Linked DNA regions of Homo sapiens: region 1 is linked to region 2. The links are contacts of gene promoters, found by promoter capture Hi-C in blood cells and fetal thymus (Javierre and others, 2016). All regions are on one chromosome and are shown on one strand. The core of a region is centred on a gene start or on the middle of the fragment in contact, and the rest is flanking DNA. Distances in the headings are between cores, read along the strand shown.

Evidence for each region. The method cuts DNA at HindIII sites, captures the fragments that hold promoters and counts their contacts. A CHiCAGO score of 5 or more calls a contact.
Region 1: a contact is called between the fragment with the promoter of WDR19 here and the fragment with the promoter of TLR10 in region 2, in 3 of 17 cell types (naive B cells, activated CD4 T cells and total B cells). The highest score is 6.2, in naive B cells.

Annotation. Positions count from the first base shown.
Region 1 is chr4:39,179,617-39,184,055 of GRCh38, forward strand. WDR19 (WD repeat domain 19) reads left to right here and starts at 2,913. Exons shown (of 37, transcript NM_025132.4): 1 at 2,913-2,947. The coding sequence starts at 2,942. RefSeq lists enhancers at 2,582-2,761, 2,613-2,907, 3,032-3,181, 3,882-3,951. The HindIII fragment of the contact is 13,594 bases long and covers 1-4,439 here.
Region 2 is chr4:38,780,846-38,785,039 of GRCh38, forward strand. TLR10 (toll like receptor 10) reads right to left here and starts at 2,145. Exons shown (of 4, transcript NM_030956.4): 1 at 2,076-2,145. RefSeq lists enhancers at 1,025-1,234, 1,297-1,466. The HindIII fragment of the contact is 660 bases long and covers 1,518-2,177 here.

The DNA of each region.
Region 1 (4,439 bases), core at 1,663-4,162, 400 kb after region 2:
GCAGTGTTTTTTGCCTTTTAGTATGCCTTGTAATTTTTTGTTGAAATCTGGATGCTATGGTTTGAATGTCCCCTCCAAAGCTCATGTTGAAACTTAATCACCAATGTGGCAATATTGAAAGTTGGGGCCTTTAAGAGGCAAATGGTTCCTGTGTGCCCTGCTTTCATGAATGGATTAATTCATTCAAAGATTCAGGGATTAATGGGTTAATGAATTAGTGGGTTATCATGGGAGTGAAATTGGTGGCTTTATAAGGAGACCTTAGCTAGAACGTTAGCACACTCAGCCTCCTTGCCATGTGATATCCTGTGCTGCCTCAGGACTCTTCAGAGAGTCCGCACCAGCAAGAAGGATCTCACCAGATGCACTCCCTTGACCTTGGACTTCTCAGTCTCCCTAACTATGACAAATGAGTTCCTTTTCTTTATAAATTACCCGGTTTTATGTATTCTGTCATAAACAACAGAAAACAACTAAGACACCAGACAGGATATACTGGATAAAAGGAATACTTGTAAGTAGTCTTTTAGTGGTATGTGGTAAGGTACAGGATAGGGCAAGTGTTCTATAGTCCTATGATTAGGCCTCAGCCTTTAGTGAGCCGGTGTGGATGGTAAAAGTCACCAGTACTTCCTTTTTTTTTTGAGACGAAGTCTAGCTCCGTCACCAGGCTGGAGTGCAGTGGCACAATCTCGGCTCATTGCAACCTCTGCCTCCCAGGTTCAAGCGAGTCTCATGCCTCGGCCTCCCGAGTAGCTGGGATTACAGGCATGTGCCACCACGCCAGGCTAATTTTTTTTTTTTTTTTTTTTTTTTGAGCAGAGTCTTGCCTTGCTCTGTCGCCAGGCTGGAGTGCAGTGGCACGATCTAGGCTCACTGCAACCTCCCCCTCCCGGGTTCAAGCGATTCCCCTGCCTCAGCCTCCCGAGCAGCTGGGACTACAGGTGCCCACCACCATGCACAGCTAATTTTTTGTATTTTAGTAAAGACGGGGTTTCACCATGTTGGCCAGGCTGGTCCTGAACTCCTGACCTCAAGTGAGCCCCCCACCTCGAACTCCCCAAGTGCTGAGATTACAGGCGTGAGCCACTGAGCCTGGCCACCAATACTTCTTTTTGCTGTTTTTTTTGACGGAGTCTCGCTCTATCGCCCAGGCTGGAGTGCAGTGGCGCGATCTCCGCTCACTGCAAGCTCCGCCTCCCGGGTTCACGCCGTTCTCCGGCCTCAGCCTCCCGCGTAGCTGGGACTACAGGCGCCCGCCAATACTTCTTAATCTCCCACACTTAAGTGGAACAGGATGGTTTATGGAGGCTGAAGTTGAGTATTTCCCTTCTCCCAGGTAGTTTAGGCTCTGATAAAACCCCAGCAGACTAGGCTTTGGTAAAAATACTTTCTCCTGAGGGCAGGTCTTGTTAAGAACTGATTGCTCTGGCTATTTTTAAATGGTTACCCTTTCAGCAGAGGAATCTTTCAGTAAAAATTTAAGTAATTAACCTAACTGTCAGAGGCGTTTGAACCAGAGCGATTCCATTTTGAGTGAGGGCTAGGAAAATGAGGCTGAGACTTGCTGGGCTGAATTCTCAGAATTTGGGCATTCCTCGCCTCTAGATGTTTACGATTAAGGGAATAAATTAATAATGTTTACTAAAACAGACCCAGATATCGGGATATCTGGAGAACAAAGGCATTCCTAATTTTGCTTTAAAGATAATAATATCAATTCCTGCAAAATAATTAAGAAAATTAATCTTTGATCACAAACCCTTGTAGCAGAGCACATCTCCCCATATATACAAGCATTGTACCTAGGGTGGATGCGTCCCTTCTCTTGCTTTCAGGAATGTCCTACTCTGTCTATGGAGTAGCTGTCCTTTCACCACTTTACGTGTTTTAATAAACTTGCTTTTCTCAGCACTGAGAACTCGCCCTGAATTCTTTCTTGCGCGCGATCCAAGAACCCTCTCTTGGGGTCTGGATCCGGACCCCTGTCGTAACGTAACTGAAAACCCCAGTGCAAAGGCATAGCACCCTACTTAAGAATTTGCAAACATTCATTATTAGTTATTTCAAATCATTGATTAACTTTCTCTAAGCCAATCAGATTCCTACCTGATGTCGAAAAGAAAAGCAAAAGGTAGACTGTTTCAACACTTTCAGACGCTTGGGTAAAAGATGCACTTTCATGCTATAAATAATGCAGCACAAATACTGTACAACAGGGCTTTATACTTGGGGAAAAGCTGCCAGATCCAAACTCTAAAGGAAAACTATTGGAGCTCATTTTTCCTGCCCACGTTAGCTAGCACATTTTGTTGACATTGAAAAAAAAAAAAGATTTTGGTGAAACTGAAAAAAAAAAAGCACCAACAACCCTACCTTGAAATAAACTATTGTACCTCTTATGCCTCCTCCCTTCTACCCCAGAAACCTGGAAGAAAAAAAGATATACCCGAGCTCGTCCAACCCCTCTTTGCGTGGACTGTATAGGAGTATTTAGCCCATCCTGCCTCCTTTAATCTAACATTCTGCGTCTTCTTTCCTTCAGCTTCTCGGCGCCCCCTTTGGCCAGCACTGACATCTTAGTCATCGCGGTCCAAAATTTACGCACGCGCCTTTGAGGGCTCACAGAGCCCGTCTCTCCCGGACGAATCTCATCCAATCAGAGCCAGCCAGGAAGCCGAGGCTCAGCAAGGCCTCGCGACGCCCAACTTCCCAGGGTTAGCGTCTCTGATGTCATGTGATTCCACCCTCCGCCTCTCACCCACCCTCGCAGAGGGCGGTGCGCTTGGCCCGGCCCCTCGAGGCACCGCCTTTCAATTAGCACTCGCTGATTGGTCGCTGCTCGCGCGGTCTCCTGGGTGACGGGAACGCGGTAGCCTGCTTGGTGGAGACCGGGTGCGCCTGCGTACTTCATAGTTCGCGTAGCGGCTCGAGCGTGGAGATGAAGGTAAATAACTTACAAATTCCCGGGGTGGGGCGGGAAAACGCGACTACTGGCCCTTGGTCGCTTTTAAAAGAGGATATCTGTCCCTCTCCCTTCTGAGTTCGTTGGAAATGAGGAAGAGAGAGAGAGAGAGAGGTGGCCAGAGAGAGCGGGGGCGAAGCTGAAGGGACGAGAGAAAGGAAAGAAAATAGGAGGAGAGGAGAGGGCGGAGAGAGAGGCCTCTCGTTTTGGGGACTGCAGACGCCGTAGAAGCGGTGCAGAAAGTGGGAACCCCTCCCTGGCCGAAATGAGCGGACTGGATCTAAAGATACCCCAGCTTCGCACGCGGAAAGAACTGGTCGAGTTAACGCGTTTGGAGGGTCGCTGTGAAGTTGACTGGGTCCGATGTCACGAGCTACCTCATTTCTTGGGGCTAAGCCTCTGGCAAGCCGCGCAGCTGCCCAGCGCCTTAAAAAGAATGAAAAGCCTCCTAAAGAATAACTTCAAAATGTATTACCTGTGACCAGTCCAATCACCTGCTAGCGAGTGTACATTATTGACGGGAAATCTGCACCCGAAAACTCAGGTCTCACGCTCATGTGCCTCATCCTCTGCACGCACGGTTTCTAGGCTTGGGCTTCTTGTTCACCCCACTTTCTGATTTATCAGAGCAGTCCCCCCTTGCTCTGCTCTGGCAAAGAAATGGAAGGCTTTTTTTTTTTTTTTTTTTTACTGAGTCTCGCTCTGTTACCCAGGCTGGAGTGCAGTGGCGCAATCTCTGCTCCCTGCAACCTCCACCTCCTGGGTTCAAGCGATTCTCCTGCCTCAGCCCCCCGAGTAGCTGGGACTACAGGCGCGTGCCACCACACCCAGCTAATTTTTTGTATTTTTAGTAGAGATGGGGTTTCACCGTGTTAGCCAGGATGCTGTCACTCTCCTGACCTCATGATCCCCCGACCTCGGGCTCCCAAAGTGCTGAGATTACAGGCGTGAGCCACCGCGCCCGGCTGGAAGGCTCAATTTTAAAATTATTTTAGATGTCCTCATGCTTCTTCGTGGCTATTAGTGTGGAAATTGGAATTGACGGACCAGTAATCATAACTCCCATTTTTATTTCTAAAGCTCTTTACAATTTATGAAATATTAGAAGTGAAGAGTTATTATTCATGATTTACAGTTGAGAATTTTTTGCTGGAGGCAATTTAAACGACTTACTTAAAGCCCTACAGCTAATAAGCTACAAACAAAATTTAAGTCTTGGTTTTTTGGTTGTGAAACTAGCAGTTTTTCCTCTGCACGGTATGTGGAGCATCTATAGAGCTCCACTGAAAAAAAATAATATGAAATCACAGCTAGAGGCAAGTCAGCCATTGAAGGTAATGAAATTCAAGTTTAAGGACTTCTCACTTGCATGAAGGAGTTCCAGGGTGAAATGGTCACAAAATTGCAAAAGTAAGATGCTTTTAAATATTCTTTCTTCATGAGTTTCTTTATGCTCTATAAAACTTTTATGTCC
Region 2 (4,194 bases), core at 895-3,394:
CTGGCAGTTATAATCATTAGGTTGACAAAGGTGCTTTTAATGTTATCCTCTCATAGAGTGCTTAATTTGTAGCAATTGACTTTAAGCTTCTAGGTCTTAGAGCCATGGCCCCTTAAGAATGCAGCAGAATCTAACCCAGTTGCTTTAGCTGGAACTCTGCGCTGAGAAGTCAGAGTTTCTATCTCTTACCCACTTCTTCCCCCTGCCCAATACCACAGTCTTATCTGGGACTACAATGGGAGAGGAACTCTTTTTGAACTTCTCTTAATATAACAATAGTAAAGGTCCTATCTCTCAGGCAATACTTATGCATTATGACATTTTATAAAAACAACTTTTACATAGAGACAGGGTCTCACTATGTTGCCAAGGCTGCTCTTAAACTCCTGGCCTCCAGCAATCTTCCCACCTCAGCCTCCCAAATGGGTGTGATTAGAGGTGTGAGCCACTGTGCTTGGCCTCATTAAAGCAATTTTAAAAGTAGGACATACACTTTTTTTTTTTTTTGAGATGGAGTCTCGCTCTGTTGCCCAGGCTGGAGTAAAGTGGTATGATCTCAGCTCACTGCAAGCTCCACCTCCCAGGTTCAAGCGATTCTCCTGCCGCAGCCTCCTGAGTAGCTGGGATTACAGGCACCTGCCATCACACCCGGCTAATTTTTGTATTTTTAGTAGAGATGGGGTTTCACCATGTTGGTGATGTAGTCTATAAATAGTATATATATGTTAATATCATATCCCTACTACTACGTTAAAAGCAGGTAAAAAACAGAGAATGACCTTCCTTAATACATCTTTAATATCTTATAATTTAAAAGTCCAAGTCAAAAGACATCATCAAATGACAACTAGTGTTTTACCAAAGAATATTTAATCATCTAATTTATCTTTTCCCAATGATATAAAGAAATAGAAAAGAGATTAAGAACCTATTGAATGTTGAATGATCTTTGCAACATAAGAGTAAGAATGACTTCTTTTCAGTATTTCCTACGTGTCTGACATGGAGCTAAGTGTTTTATGTCCATTACCTTGTTTAATCCCTCAATGACTCAACAAAATGGCGGCCATTATTATTCATATTTTACAGATGGAGGAGCTAAAGCCCAGAGGTAAAGTAACTTGCCCAAGATGACCAACTGAAGAAGCAGAGATTTGAACCCAGACCTGTCTGGTTCCTTCTGGATGGTAACTAAACCCAAATGCAAGGCACCTCAAACCTTGAAATGAGGTGGCTTAAGATGTAACGACATCCTAAGGACCGAATCACTGAGGTTGAATCCATTGATCTGACCAGCTGCCATGGCGGCCACTTCCTCCTTTCTCACCCCATGCCCCTGTCTATGAAGCTTCATGCAGCTGCTGTGGGACACTCTGCTAGGTGCCACAAAGTTCAAGAGACTTTGCCTACATGTATAAATATATTCTTAGGAAAGTTATAAGTTCACAAGAATTGAAATAAAACTCGAAGTGCATCCTATTCCTAATTAATAGCTCAGTGTAGGTGGTCTGGGAGAAAGCTTATCAAGAAACCAAATGCTCACAGGTTGTTAACCATCCTCTTCTTTACAGCAACCACATATGGCCCTCTTTGTCCACTTCTGAAGGAAACGGAATAAGAACTGCATTGTACAAGATCCATCAGATCTGCCCCTACTTTTAAACAGGTAACACAAATGCAGAACTTTTCAACGGGGTAAAGGAGCAACAAATATGCCTTAAATAGCCAAAGGTTTCATCCAGCAGAGGTTAACATACGCTGTGGGGAAATAAGAGCTAGAAAAAACTTGCCACAGTGCATAGGACCGTTCAATCTGAATAGAAGAGCTGACCAGGTTTGATCCGCAATCAGTGAAAAGAAACCCACGCTCTCAAGCATCTGCAAGAAATTCCTCAGATCAATAGCCCCAAGGTCACTAATCATTAATCTAGACAAAATAGTAAATACTAAAAATCTAAATAACCCTACTTCCCTCCCCTCAATATTAGCTCAAATTATCTCCTTTTTAGAAAATACCCATGCAGCCCTTATATCTTTTTAATGAGAGTTACAACAAACAAAGCTAAGGTTCTTACCCCACGGCTTGCACTCTCTCAGCAGAGCTGCAGGTGCGTGGATGATTCGTTGACACGGTCAGAATTGGCTGCAGGAGGGAATTGAATCGAGGTTTTCTGTAAAGCTTAAACCCCATCCGCCCTCTTCTGCATGCTACTGGTATTGCATGTTATATATATTCATTATAATCTTAGCACTTTTTTAAATTGTGGTCAAATACACATAACATAGGAGTTATCATGCTCACCATCTTTCTATTTTTATTTTTATTTTTATTTTTTTTGAGGTAGGGTCTCACTTTGTCACCCAGGCTGGAGTGCAGTGGTGTGATCACTGCTCACTGCAGCCTTGACCTCTTGCGCTAAAGCCCGCAAGAGGCTGGGCTTCTCAGTCCCGCAAATGTCTGGGACTACAGGCGCTCACCAACTGGCCTGGCTAAGTTTTTTGTATTTTTTGTAGAGACGGGGTTTCGCCAGTTGCCCAGGCTGGTCTTGAACTCCTGAGCTCAAGTGATCTGCCTGTCTCGGCCTCCCAAAGTGCTAGGATTACGGTGTGAGCCACCGCGCCTGACCTTAAGCATTTTTAAATGTACAATTTAGTGGCATTAATTAAGTACATTCACACTGTTGTGCAACCACCACCACTGCCCATCTCCAAAGATTTTTCGTCATCCCAAACTGAAATTCTATGCCATTAAAAAATAATTTCCCATTTTCCCCTTCCCTCAGACCCTGGAAACTATAATTCTACTTTCTGTCTGTGTGAATTTGACTACTCTAGGTACCTCATGTCCGTGGAGTTATACCATATTTGGTTTTTTGTGACTGGCTTATTTCATTGAGCATAATGTCTTTAAGGTTCATCCATATCATTTCTATTATTATTACATAGAATAATAGAATCTTTCCTTCCTTTTTTAAGGCTGAATACTATTTTGTTGTATGTACGTCCCACATTTTGTTCATTCATTCATCCATCAATGGACATTTGGGTAGTTTTCACCTTTTGGCTCTTGTGAATAATGCTGCTGTGAACGTGGTGCACAAATATCTATTTAAGTTGGTACTTAACATTCTTTTGAGTCTATACCTAGAAGTGGAATTCACGGATCGTATGACCATTCTGTTTAATTTTTTGCAGAACTACCATACTGGTTTTCCACAGCATCTTAGAGCTCTTTGATGATGCTTTTCTTCAAGGTGCAGGTCGGTTATCCCTTTCATCAGTTGGGTGGGGCAGTCATGTGATGATGGGCAGGAGTAGGAATGGTGACTCCATAATTTCAGCAATCAGGCAGGAAGAGGGTGGAAAGGAGTTATCTAGAGCAGTGGTCCCCAACCCCTGGGCCACAGACAGGTACCAGTTCATGGCCTGTTAGGAACCGAGCCACACAGCAGGAGGTGAGTGGTGGGTAAGCAAATGAAGCTTCATCTGTATTTACAGTCGCTCCCCATCGCTTGCATTACCACCTGAGCTCCACACCCTGTCATATCAGTGGCAGCATTAGATTCTCATAGGAGCTTGGACCCTACTGTGAGCTGCATATGGGAGGGATCTAGGTTGCGTGCTCCTTATGAGAATCTAATGTCTGATGATCTGTCACTGCTTCCCATCATGTCAGATGGGACCATCTAGTTGCAGGAAAACAGGCTCAGGGCTTCCACTGATTCTACATTATGGTGAGTTGTATAATTATTTCATTATATATTACAATGTCATAATAATAGAAATAAAGTGCACAATAAATGTAATGTGCTTGAATCATCCCGAAACCATCTCTCCTCCATCTCCAAACCCGGTCTGTGGAAAAACTGTCTTCCATGAAATTGGTCCTGGTGCCAAAAAGATTGGAGACCTCTGACCTAGAGGCCTTTTCTTGAAGTGAAGTGGTAAAATAAGCATGGTATTTTTTAAAATGTAGATCGCAAAGTACGGATCAATTTTTAAAGCAACATTTTTGAGGTTTTTTTCATACTTGACTTAAGATTTAGGTGACTGCTGGAGATCACGAGTAAAGAAGAAAATTTCCAGATGGATTTGTCTACAGGAGGAATGATCAATTTAAACATGAATGATTATAATAGATTTATGTCTTATAAAATTGGGGAGTGGGTGGGTTCTTAAAATACATTTTTTAAC